Regions from separate parts of the Homo sapiens genome. Here regions 1 and 2 are each linked to region 3. Evidence: promoter capture Hi-C in human tissues and cell types (Jung and others, 2019). All regions are on one chromosome and are shown on one strand. The core of a region is centred on a gene start or on the middle of the fragment in contact, and the rest is flanking DNA. Distances in the headings are between cores, read along the strand shown.

Region 1 (3,903 bases), core at 6-2,505, 300 kb before region 3:
ATTTTACAGATGAGGAAACTCAAGCATAGAGATGCTGACAGACTTATCTGAGGTCATATTATATTAAATGGAAAAAATGGGACTGGAACCCAATCATCTGACCACTAGCCCAGACTCTGGACAAGGCCCAACAGACATAAAAGTCATATCCATAAAGACATTCACAACAATGTAACCAGTCCCCCAACAACTGTAATACATAGGTACTCACTTAAATGCCCAATGCAGAAAGCTTAAGCAAATTACAGTTCAAAAACAAGATGGCATGCTACACAGCCATTTAAAGTATTTATGAGGACAAAGTAAAAATGGGGAAATGTTTGAAATATACATGAAAAAAGCAGAATGCATAAAATACATATATCTACTGATTATTATAATGCAATGTCTACCAGGGCAGAGATTTTTGTCTGTTTTGTTTACAGTTATTTTTCCTGTTATGTGCCTGGCACAGGAACATAACAGGAGGCGTAGTAGGTTCTCAATAAATACCCAATATTGGTTGAATGAAATACTGAACAATAATGCTATGTATGAATATGGACAAGAGCTGAAGGATGATAAGCAAGCAAGAAAACTTATTTTAGGTTAATGAAAACATGAATGATATTATTTTCTTAAATACTGTAGTAACATCTTGACAAAAAAATTTATAAACTCAAGATTAAAATATAAATGTCAAAAAAAAACAAACACACACAAATACCGTATCACCCCTTGATTACACATGACTTCCATGTTTCCTGAGGTAGACAGAAAGCACAACAAAAAGACTAGAATGAAAGCTGGCCTTGAATCTGATGAAGAGCTTCTTTTCTGGAAGATGATGAGCATGTTTTGTATGGTATCAGGTACACAGCGATGACAATAACTTTTCTAAGCTGGCAAGACAAGGACATCTTTGCACCATTTGTATTTAGGCCATTCTCAATGTCACTCTGGACATTTCTCATCGCCTTTTAAAAATGAATTTACACATCAGTAAACACACCTCAGACTTCTGGACTAAAACACTGTGAAACATGTTAACAAACCTATTAACGGCCAGCTATTTGAAACGCAGGAATTTAACCTAAGTTCTACTTAGATAGAGGCATGCAAAGACAGCTCACATCAGATCACAAAAATAGAAATCAGAGGGCTGCTCAGCACACAAACACTCAGTGTAACCAGGCCCAGCTTGAAGATACTTTCCCATGAGTAGTAGCAACAATAATAACAACAACAACAACAAACCATTATTGGTCAATTAATGACTGTAAGTAAATAAAAATAGAATGATCTTAAAATTCAGCTATATCAGAATAAAAGAAAATTGATTTAATAATTAAAGTTTTCACCAGATACTTGTTATCTTTTAACTTGGCATTATATAAGTATTTAGTACCAATTAAGAAAATGGCTAAAATAATGTATTTTGTTGTTATGAACACCAATTGATCACGTTACAAGTGAAAAAGGCAAAAAAGCCAGGTTGTTTTGAACACAGGACTATAAAGACTTCGGCACTTAAGAGTCAGAAGCCCTGACAACTCATTACTATTCATCTACAGAGGGGAAAAATTATCCACAGCAGAATCTTAGAGAGATTTTCCAGTCACATTTTGCTAAAGAGCAAACACCAGATTTTTAAAAAAATTCACAAAAGAGTATGGCAGAATAGAGTGTTCTAGGAAATATTTTCATAGCTTTACTGCAGTTAATACAGCAATTCATAAAGCAAGAAGAAATGTAGTAAAAACATTTGTGATAATTGGCATATTTCTCCAATCCTATCTGGGGAACAGGCTTAAAAAGTGAGCAATAGGGACAGGCGCGGTGGCTCACACCTGTAATCCCAGCACGTTGGGAGGCTGAGGCGGGTGGATCATGAGGTCAGGAGATCGAGACCATCCTGGCAAACAAGGTGAAAGCCCGTCTCTACTAAAAATACAAAAAAATTTAGCCGGGTGTGGTGGCGGGCACCTGTAGTCCCAGCTACTTGGGAGGCTGAGGCAGGAGAATGGTATGAACCCGGTAGGCGGAGCTTGCAGTGAACCGAGATCGTGCCACTGCACTCCAGCCTGGGTGACACAGCGAGAGTCCGTCTCAACTAAAAAAAAAAAAAAAAAAAAAAGTGAGCAATATACTTCACTATGCCACACATGTGCTGAATAAGTTTTAAAAATCTATTTAAATACCTATTTAAAATCCTAGGCTCAGTGTGGTGGCTCACGCCTGTAACCCCAGCACTTTGGGAGGCTGAAGTGGGTGGATTGTCTGAACTCTGGAGTTTGAGACCAGCCTGGGTAACATGGCAAAACCCCGTCTCTACCAAAAACACACACACACACACACACACCCCCGGGCATGTGGTGCGCACCTGTGATCACACACACACACACACACACACACACACACACACACACACACACACACACACCCGGGCATGTGGTGCGCACCTGTGGTCCCAGCTATTTGGGAGGCTGAAGTAGGATTGTTTGAGCCTGGGAGTTGGAGGCTGCAGTTAGCCAACATCGTGCCACTGCACTCCAACCTGAGTGCCAGAGTGAGGCGCTGTCTCAAAAACAAAAAATCCTATTAAAAACCTATTCCTATAGTTTACAAAACCTATTCCTTTCCACCAACAGCAAAGATGCTTGAGGCTACAATCATAATATTCCTTTCTACCTATACATCTTTGACCCTCATTCCAGCCCAGAAGATAACCCTCCCACTCCCATGCCCATTGCCCTGTGGAGCCAGGACTTCTATAACCTGCATTGCCCTTCTACACCACCTTCAAGGTCCTCTGGCCTCAACACAAAGCTCAGGTAGCTCACTACACCTCCTGGACTAGATCTAGCTCAAAGTGGCCTATTTCTTTCCCCTCCTGAAGCAATGGGGTGGGTCCCTGAACAACATTCACTTCTCCTGCCCACACCCCTAACATGATGCTAAGATGAGGGCACTAGGAGAAAAAGACTCTTGACCCATCACAAACCAAAGCCAGCTCCACAGTCATGATCCTGCCTGGGCTTTGTCTGGGGCTCTGGCTGAGCCTCTTCCTGAGCAGCTTGTCAGCAAATATCTCAAGAGTTCCATGGAATGGTAATTAAAAGGACTCACTGAATAACTGAAAAAAATTATTGGCTAACTACTGCACATTTTGTAATAAAAATGCTTATGGTTACAAGAAGGACCTCTTTCATCTATAAAGACAAAATAATCTTTGTATAAGTCTCATATAAAAATACACTGTAGAAAAAGGTAACTTTGTTTTCTTTAAAGACTCATACATGATCACTAAAATTACTTATTCCCCAGAGATCCCCTCCTCCTACAACACAACACCTCACTTGGCAATCATTTCATCTCATTTGACTATTCCATTTGTGATTTGTGTAGGATAGTTCATTCTCAAATAATGCTTCTGTTTTGCCACTATTTGAATGCCAGCAGCTTCCCCACCACACTAACAGATAAGCATTTTCTCTGTTCTCTATCTTGAGCCCTTGATCTGATTTTCTGGGCACCTTCCTCTCTCAATAATGACTTTACTCATAGACTGGTCCCAGAACATATACAGGAAGTTACCCTCTGACATCAGGGCCCTCATTAAACTAAAAGCCCAGTGTCCCAGACAATTGTGATTTTTCTTTTTCTTTTTTAGACAGAGTCTTGCTCTGTCACCCAGGCTGGAGTACAGTGACACGATCTCAGCTCACTGCAAGCTCCGCCTCCTGGGTTCACGCCATTCTCCTGCCTCAGCCTCCTGAGTAGCTGGGACTACAGGTGCCCACCACCACGCCTGGCTAATTTTTTGTATTTTTAGTAAAGACAGGTTTTTCACTGTGTTAGCCAGGGCTCTCCTGACCTCGTGATCCACCTGCCTTGGCCTCCCAAAGTACTCGGATTACAGGC
Region 2 (3,661 bases), core at 1,135-3,634, 350 kb after region 3:
AGGGCAGGGTAAGGCAGGGAGGGTGTGCAGCTCAAGAGAGCTGGGGCTGGAGGCTTGAGTCAAACCAAGAATGATTAAAATTGAGAAATTCCAACAGTTCCCCCACCCCCAAAAGTAGAGGCCAGAATTCTCATGCAATTGAGTCAGAGAATTCTGGCATTGGGAGTGAGAAGGGTAAGATATAATCTCTCTGAAAAGCATTTCAGTCATTTATAAACCTCTGTGATTCAAAGTTTTCTCATTATAAATGGGGATGTCAGTGTCTTCCTAAGGCTTCACACTTCTCATTTTAGGTCCTGGGAGAGAAGATAGCTCCTCCCATCCCTCTTAGAGCATTTTACAGAAGCAGGTAGTTTGTGTTGGTTTGTCTTCTGGTTAGCCATTGAAGATTTGTAACTCATGGGACTGGGAACTGTGAGCCAAGACTGGTATTTTAGGTTTCCTATAGGTTTGCCTGTCCCTACAAAGGTAATACAGATGCTCCTCAGCTTAACAATGAGGTTACATCCGGATAAACCCATCTTAAATTGAAAATACTATAAGACAAAAATGCATTTAATACACCTAAACTACTGGACATCATAGCTTAGCCTCGCCTACCTAAACGTGCTTAGAACACTTACATTAGGCCAGGCACGGTGGCTCATGCCTATAATCCCAGCACTTTGGGAGGCTGAGATGGGCAGATCACTTGAGGCCAGGAGTTCGAGACCAGCCTGGGCAACATGGTGAAACCCTGTCTCTACCAAAAATATATATATAAGCTGGGTGTGGTGGCACGTTCCTGTAGTCCCAGCTACTTGGGAGGCTGAGGTGGGAGGATTGCTTCAGCCCTGGAGAAGGTTGCAGTGAGCCAAGATTGCACCACTGCACTCCAGCCTGAGTGACAGAGTGAGACACTGCCACAAAAGCAAACAAACAAACAAAATACTAGTCTATGGTTGGGCAAAATTATCGGGCAGCACAGTGAACTGTAGCGTCCATCGTTTACCCTTGTAACGTGTGGCTGCCTGGGAGCTATGGCTCACTGCCACTGCCCAGCATCATGAGAGTATCACATTGCATATTGCTAGCCTGGGAAAAGATCAAAATTCAAAATTCTAAGTACAGTTTCTACTGAGTACTATAATTTTCATACCATCATAAAGTTGAAAAATGGAAGTCAAACCACTGTAAGTGGGGGACTTTCTGTGCTATGGATGACTGGGTGGTAACCGGGTCTCTGGCAGTGCAACCACAGTTGAGTGGCTTTTTTCTCTCTCAAAATAACATCTCTTCCCAGATACTAGACATGTTTTTCCTAAATAGTCTCAATCTGGGACGTTCGTATCTTATCCATGGCTCTGACCCCCAACTCTTTCCCATCTTTGGATGTTCCAGGTGGGGTTTCCCTACAAATTTCCAATGTAAAGAAACCTCACCCACAAATTTTAGATGATCCTGTAAGTGAAAAATGGCAAGAAAATGGAGAACTTGGATTTAAGGAAACAAAGACAATGAGTATAGACTGTTAAGTTTAATTATGACTTAAGGAGAAATATGTCAAGTTTAGGGAAATTTGGCAACTTATGGACATTTTGAAGGACTGGTAAAATACAAATTGATTTATAGGCTCTAGTTCTTTGCCAAAAGAGAGGAACAGAGGATACAGGAGAGTAAGAAGACAACTGAGATTATGAGTTCCCACAGAATATAAATTTGAAAGGGAACCCTCCCAACACAAATTATAATTCAGGTGAGAGCTCTTCCTCTGGTTTAGTGGTCCCAGGAGTCACAGGCTTACACTTGTCTCAATAGCTCTTGTGTCTATGTGATATGGTTTGGCTGTGTCCCCACCCAAATCTCATCTTGAATTGTAGCTCCCATAATTCCTACATGTTGTGGGAGGGACCTGGTGGGAGGTAATTGAATCTTGGGTTGGGTCTTTCCTGTGCTATTCTTGTGACAGTAAGTAAGTCTCATAAGACCTGATGGTTTTATAAACGGAATTTCCCCTATGCAAGCTCTCTTGCCTGCCACCATGTAAGACATGACTTTGCTCCTCATTTGCCTTCAGCCATGATTGTGAGGCCTCCCCAGCCATGTGAACTGTGAGTCAATTCAACTTCTTTTCTTTATAAATTGCCCAGTCTCAGGTATGCTTTACTAGCAGCATGAGAACAGACTAATACACTACGCTTCAAGGCCTCCCAAAAGCAGAGCATGAGATGGCGACTTGTGTGCAAGTAGTTTATTTTAGGAAGGGGTCTCAGAAAACAGGCATCAGGACACTAAGAGAGTAAAAGAAAGGAGAAGGGAAGGCCATCCCAAGCATAGGGTATTGAGCTGGTTACCACTGTGGACAATGGGCTTCAATCTAGTTGGTGGTCCTCTGTCTCCCACCAAAGCCTAGGAGGCTGGTTGTTTGTCCAATGGTTTCATCATCCGTTGTCAGTGATTTGCCAGGGAGACCTAACCCATTTGCAGTCCCAGACTTGCATATGCCAGAAAGGCTGAGGGGCTCTTGCAGGCTTCCCACACTGCATCAGCAGAGAAGCTCCTAGAAGGAGCATGAGAGAAACGGTGAGGAGGTCTTTGATTTCACCTGAGTGCAGCTACGGTCAGGGTAGGAATGTGGGCCAAGAGGACGTGAGATGGGGCATAAAAGTTGTTCAGTGCCATCCTCCCCTGCCTGTGTTTGGGTCTGCCCATGCGCCAGCTCTGCATGTAGCTCAGCATATCAGAGAGTCAGGCAAGAACCTAGTGAGCCGCGATCTCTACTTAAGACTCAATATAAGTGGATTAGTGGAAAAGATAACATTTCCCACCATTACAACTGGGCCTGAAGCCATAATTGATTCTTATTACCTCCCTCCTTTATCAACCATATTATAGTTCCTGCCCCCAGAGCCAACCTTTACAGGTCGAAGATGCTTACCTACTGGGAAAACAGACTTTCACTTCCAAGAGGTCAGATCCCTTAGCTGACTTACCCTGATAGAGAGCTGCGATTGCTGCAAGTGCCCACTGATGGTTATGCCTGGGTATGGAAGCATTCACAGAACCTCCTGGGTTCAGATATACTTGAGTAGCAACATCACCAATGCATGATAATCAGGGTCAATGACCTACGTAAGTATAATGGCTCCTCCCTTTTCCTGCCAGCCTACCATCGTGGGAAAGCCAGAATGACCAAGTTAGTAACAACATTAGTTTAGCAGACACTGCCTGTGCTCTTTGGTAGAAACATCTCCCCACTCTGCCCCCACTAACAAGGAATTCTAAGCTGGAAGGATCCAATGTTCCAGGGATAAGAAGTACAAATGTTTACCAGGTACTATTTCTGCAGTGCCTTATCATAGAGGTTTCCAGCTTGGAAAATGTCAATAGGCCACGTTGTAATCCTCACCTGAGAGGTCTCTGGAGATGGGTCTGGTGTAGCAGACACCTAAATCTTGCTTGTATCAGAATTCGAATTTTTTTTTTTTTTTGAGACAGAGTCTTGCTCTGTCGCCAAGGCTGGAGTGCAGTGGCATGATCTCGGCTCACTGCAACCTCTGCCTCCTGAGTAGTGATTCTCCTGCCTCAGCCTCCTGAGTAGCTGGGATTACAGGTGCCAGCCACCTCGCCTGGCTAATTTTTGTATTTTTAGTAGAGATAGGGTTTCACCATGTTGGCCAGG
Region 3 (4,033 bases), core at 582-3,081:
CAGAATGTAGGTGCCACTGCCTCCTATGTTTACAGGATCCTCCGTGGCCCTAGGCACCTGGGCTGCAGGAAGTGACTCCGTTCCACTCCTCCTTTATTCCCTTAAAAAGGGAAAAATGACTGTTACGACCCTGTTCACAAAACTCTTACTTTTGCTATTTTGTCTGCTGTCCAGAACTGAAGACTTTAAAATTTTGTTACTGTTTACAAGTCCAGATTCAAAAAATGTTTTTACTTTGTTTACAACTCAAAACTTTGAGTTTTACACTTTGTTTACAGTAGATAATTTTTTTTCCTTTGTTTCCAAGTGAAAGGTAGGGAAAGTGGGAGAGGGACTTGGAGGACCCACCTGTGAGGACCCTGACCTGGCCATCTTGAGGGGTTTTCTAACCCCCAGGTCTCCCAGGCCGAAGGTCAGCCTTGAGTCCCGTTTAACAGCAGATCCAGAAGACCTTGAGAGTAGGCGTCCTCTAACCACGGGGGAGAGTGGCTGTGCAGGGCTGGGGGGTGGTCTGTGCAGACACCTCCTCACCCACCACCCCATGCATACTCTTGGGAAGCAGCTTCCTGGGAGATTAGAAATTCTACTTCCCTGACTGGAGCTAAATCCCACCAGCCAGGACCCAAACTCTCCTTACCGAGAAGGACCCCAGCTCTTGAAGGGCTGAGTGGCCTGCTGGGGGTGGGAGGGTGTCTTTACTATGTCCTAGGTTTCGTAGATGCCCCTCTCTGGGGTTCCCCTCCTCCAGCCCAGCGGCCCTCTTTCCTGTCTGTGTAAATTGTTCCGTGAAGCCGCGCTCTGTTTTGGGAATAAACTTCTATAGAAAACAGTTGTTGCCTTTTCCTGTTGGGGGCTGGGGAGGTAGGATGGAAGCTGTGAATGATTCAAGCCAGACTGACCTTTGGGAGGAATCTGAGCCCCTCCCAAGAATATCCAGCTATTTTTAGCCCATTTCATGGCAGATCTCTTTCACCTTGAAATCTGGCCCCTCACTTTGTAATTGGGGCCTGATGTTGGAGCACAGGTGCTGAAAATAAGGTGCTAAGGAAAACCTCCCCGCTGGTCAAGGCAACGGCAACAGGACTTCCTAATTCTTCAGGGTCTGCAGCCCTGACCCGGCATTTTTTGCCCTCACCTGCGGTGAAACCAACCTGAGGAACTGCTCTTGCAGTTCCTGCCTTGCCCACCCAACAGCACTGACGCCCACCCAACAGCACTGACCCCCACCATTCTCCTCGGCGGCCCGCGCAGTAACCTTCTGGGAGCTACGTCCGGGCTGTGCTTAGTGCAGCGGAGGGGATCCTCCAACCATTTCTGGCCTGGGTGGCCAGAGTTAAAGGGGAGGACTTGGGGACCGTTGGCTCCGGGTCTCAAAGAGATGCGTAGTCGCAGAAAGCCTGCGGGTGGCGCTCTCAGCTGAAGGCAAGAGAGGCCCCACAGACCTGGATCCCCTACGAGTTAAGGCTGGGGTCACCGGCCAGTGGAGTTTCCTTTTCCCACTCCGTGAGCACCTTCCGCCGAGCCAGGACCTGGGATCAGCTCCAACCTACTCAGGGCCTGGGGGCGCGACTGCGGCCAGCCCGGCGCGGGTGCTTAGTTCCAGTTCTGCAGTCCCATCCAGCTCCGGGCAGAGGGCCGGGCGAGCAGCGAGAGGCCTCATAGGCCAGGTCGCCGGGGAGGAAGCGGTTAAATCCTCCTTCTCCAGTCTCTCCCCGCCCGGCGCGCGCCACTTAGGCCCCGCCCCAGCGCGCTGATTGGCCCAAGCCTCCCCGTCCTGCCCCGGGATTAGCCCCCGGGAGAGCGCAGCTGGCCTCACCCGGTCCCGGCGCCGCCTTCCGGAGCGTAGCGGCCTCTAGCTCGAGCAGCAGGAGCAGCCCGCACCGGACAACTTGCGAGCCATGGGGCTGGCGGATGCGTCGGGGTGAGTTCAGCGCACATTCCCGGTGGCCCCGCGCGAGCGCCTCGCTGGAGCAGGCATTCTCCGCTTGCGACGCCTCGCTGGAGCAGGCATTCTCCGCTTGCGACGCCTCGGTTTACCTCTGCTGATTTTCTGCAGGCGGCTGCCCCTCTGCAGCAAGGGGTGGGGGCGGGAGCCGGCGCGACCCCAGTCCCTTGGGCTGTGCGGAAAGCCGCTGGTGTGACGCCCGAGGGCCATCCCGGGCCACAGGGAGGCAGCTGCGTGCGGAGGAGCCCGGCCAGGAGATGTGCCGGCGGGGGTGCGTGGGGCACGGGAGTCCCTGGCAGCGGCCCGTGGACTAGCTGCTTTCAGCTGAGTCCCGAGTCCACCCAGCTCCACTGATCCCGGAGTGAGCGCTCCGGCCTTTCTGGCCCCAGTTGCCTTCCTACAGGGAGGGGCCAATGATCAAGGCTCCGCCCTCCAAACGCGGGTCCCAAGTTGTCGGGGGAGGGAGCCCTTTAAGAAGACCTGAGTGACTCACGTAGGAAAGGAGAGGGGGCTCTACGATCTCCTTGAGATAGCGGTCCCAAGAGTCTCTGAGGATCTTCCTTGCACCCACTCCACACTCCTCCAACAGTACAGCCAGGTTAGAGGCGCTTCCCAGGTGAGTTCCTGTCCCTCAAATGGGATCCTCTCCCCAGGTCAGGGCTTTTCCTAGATCAGAACTTTCCTGACTGGTGAAAGCTTCCCCAACAGGCTAGAGTTTTCCCCCAGGTAAGATCCTTCTGTGAGATCTATTCCCAGGTGACAGCTTTTCCCCATTCCACGTGGGAGCCTCGCCCGAGGTCAGAGCTTTCTCTATGGGAGAGTACCCCCCAGGTGAGAACCCTCTCCCTCTAGGTCTTTTCTTCCCATGTGAGATCTTTCTCTGACTTCAAGTAGGTGCCTCTGGGCAGAGGGAAGATTCCCCCTGTATCAGAACTTGCCAGGCTGATAAAGATTCCCTGGTAGGTCAGAGATCCCTCTAGGTGAGATTCCCCTTGAAAGCTTCTATTCCCAGGTGAGCTCTTTCCCCCACTTCAAGTGGGTACTTCCCTTTCCATGTGGGAGCCTCTCCCTCTAGGTGAGAGATTGCCACTCCAAGAGCAAGCTCCTTCTCAGGTGAGAGCCAGTCCTTGGCTTCCCCATAACAGGCCTGAGCCGTCTACAACCTGGACCCTGGGGCTGGAGGCCCAGGGGCAAGCTTGGCTCCAACACTTTCCTTCCCTTAGAGGGGAGGGTCTCATCTGAGGCCTGAGGCTTGGGAAAGGAGTTGCTTGAGGAGCTGGACCCCTGGTTTGCTGGACCCCTTCCCTGAGTGTGCTCTCAGCCAGCAGTGGGCTCCCGGGGCAGCTGGAGGAGGACCTGGGGACTGGAGAGGGACTGGGTGGGGGAGGGAGCAGCCTGGGACCTGGACTGGTAGAACACTCAGCACTGGGCTGCCACATCTCGGCTGGAGGTATAGCTAGTGCTCATCCTGCAGTCCCTACTTGGGGGACTTTGTCCTAGAAAGAGGCTTTCTCACCAGCCAAAGTTCAGGTACTGCCCCTGTCTGAGTTTGGACATGTGGCCCACAGATGCCAGCTGGGGGCTGGAATACTGTACCTTGATCTTAGGGCCTGGAAAAATCAGGTAGGTAACTCTCTGGTCCTAGGTGGAGGTGTAGGGGAGGTTGGGCCAGGGATGCCTTCACTGTGTCTCTCTGGTCTTGCCACCCCAGACCGAGGGACACACAGGCACTGCTGTCTGCAACACAAGCAATGGACCTGCGGAGGCGAGACTACCACATGGAACGGCCGCTGCTGAACCAGGAGCATTTGGAGGAGCTGGGGCGCTGGGGCTCAGCACCTAGGACCCACCAGTGGCGGACCTGGTTGCAGTAAGGCCAAGATTGGGGCCTGGGGGCGCTGGCGGGGCCCAGGTAGCCCCTGTTCCTGACACCTACCCCTCATATCATGTCCCTAGGTGCTCCCGTGCTCGGGCCTATGCCCTTCTGCTCCAACACCTCCCGGTTTTGGTCTGGTTACCCCGGTATCCTGTGCGTGACTGGCTCCTGGGTGACCTGTTATCCGGCCTGAGTGTGGCCATCATGCAGCT

Evidence for each region. Contacts are between HindIII fragments. The study calls those that stand out against the background at their distance.
Region 1: a fragment that was not itself captured here is called in contact with the fragment with the promoter of SLC26A6 in region 3 in 1 of the 25 tissues and cell types used here (liver).
Region 2: a contact is called between a fragment that was not itself captured here and the fragment with the promoter of SLC26A6 in region 3, in 1 of the 25 tissues and cell types used here (IMR-90 fibroblasts).

The regions. Positions count from the first base shown.
Region 1 is chr3:48,931,755-48,935,657 of GRCh38, reverse strand. The region is part of intron 3 of ARIH2 (ariadne RBR E3 ubiquitin protein ligase 2); the gene reads right to left. Among named protein-coding and RNA genes, the nearest start is that of ARIH2OS, 14 kb to the right of the region's middle. The HindIII fragment of the contact is 3,938 bases long and covers 1-3,224 here.
Region 2 is chr3:48,281,727-48,285,387 of GRCh38, reverse strand. No RefSeq gene overlaps it. Among named protein-coding and RNA genes, the nearest start is that of NME6, 18 kb to the left of the region's middle. The HindIII fragment of the contact is 8,358 bases long and covers 1-3,661 here.
Region 3 is chr3:48,633,259-48,637,291 of GRCh38, reverse strand. It overlaps SLC26A6 (solute carrier family 26 member 6), which reads left to right and starts at 1,831. Exons shown (of 21, transcript NM_022911.3): 1 at 1,831-1,921; 2 at 3,657-3,815; 3 at 3,902-4,033. The coding sequence starts at 1,899. It overlaps CELSR3 (cadherin EGF LAG seven-pass G-type receptor 3), which reads left to right. Exons shown (of 35, transcript NM_001407.3): 35 at 1-829. MIR6824 (microRNA 6824) reads left to right here and starts at 3,594; the gene lies at 3,594-3,656. RefSeq lists silencers at 1,623-1,902, 2,293-2,392. The HindIII fragment of the contact is 9,287 bases long and covers 1-2,793 here.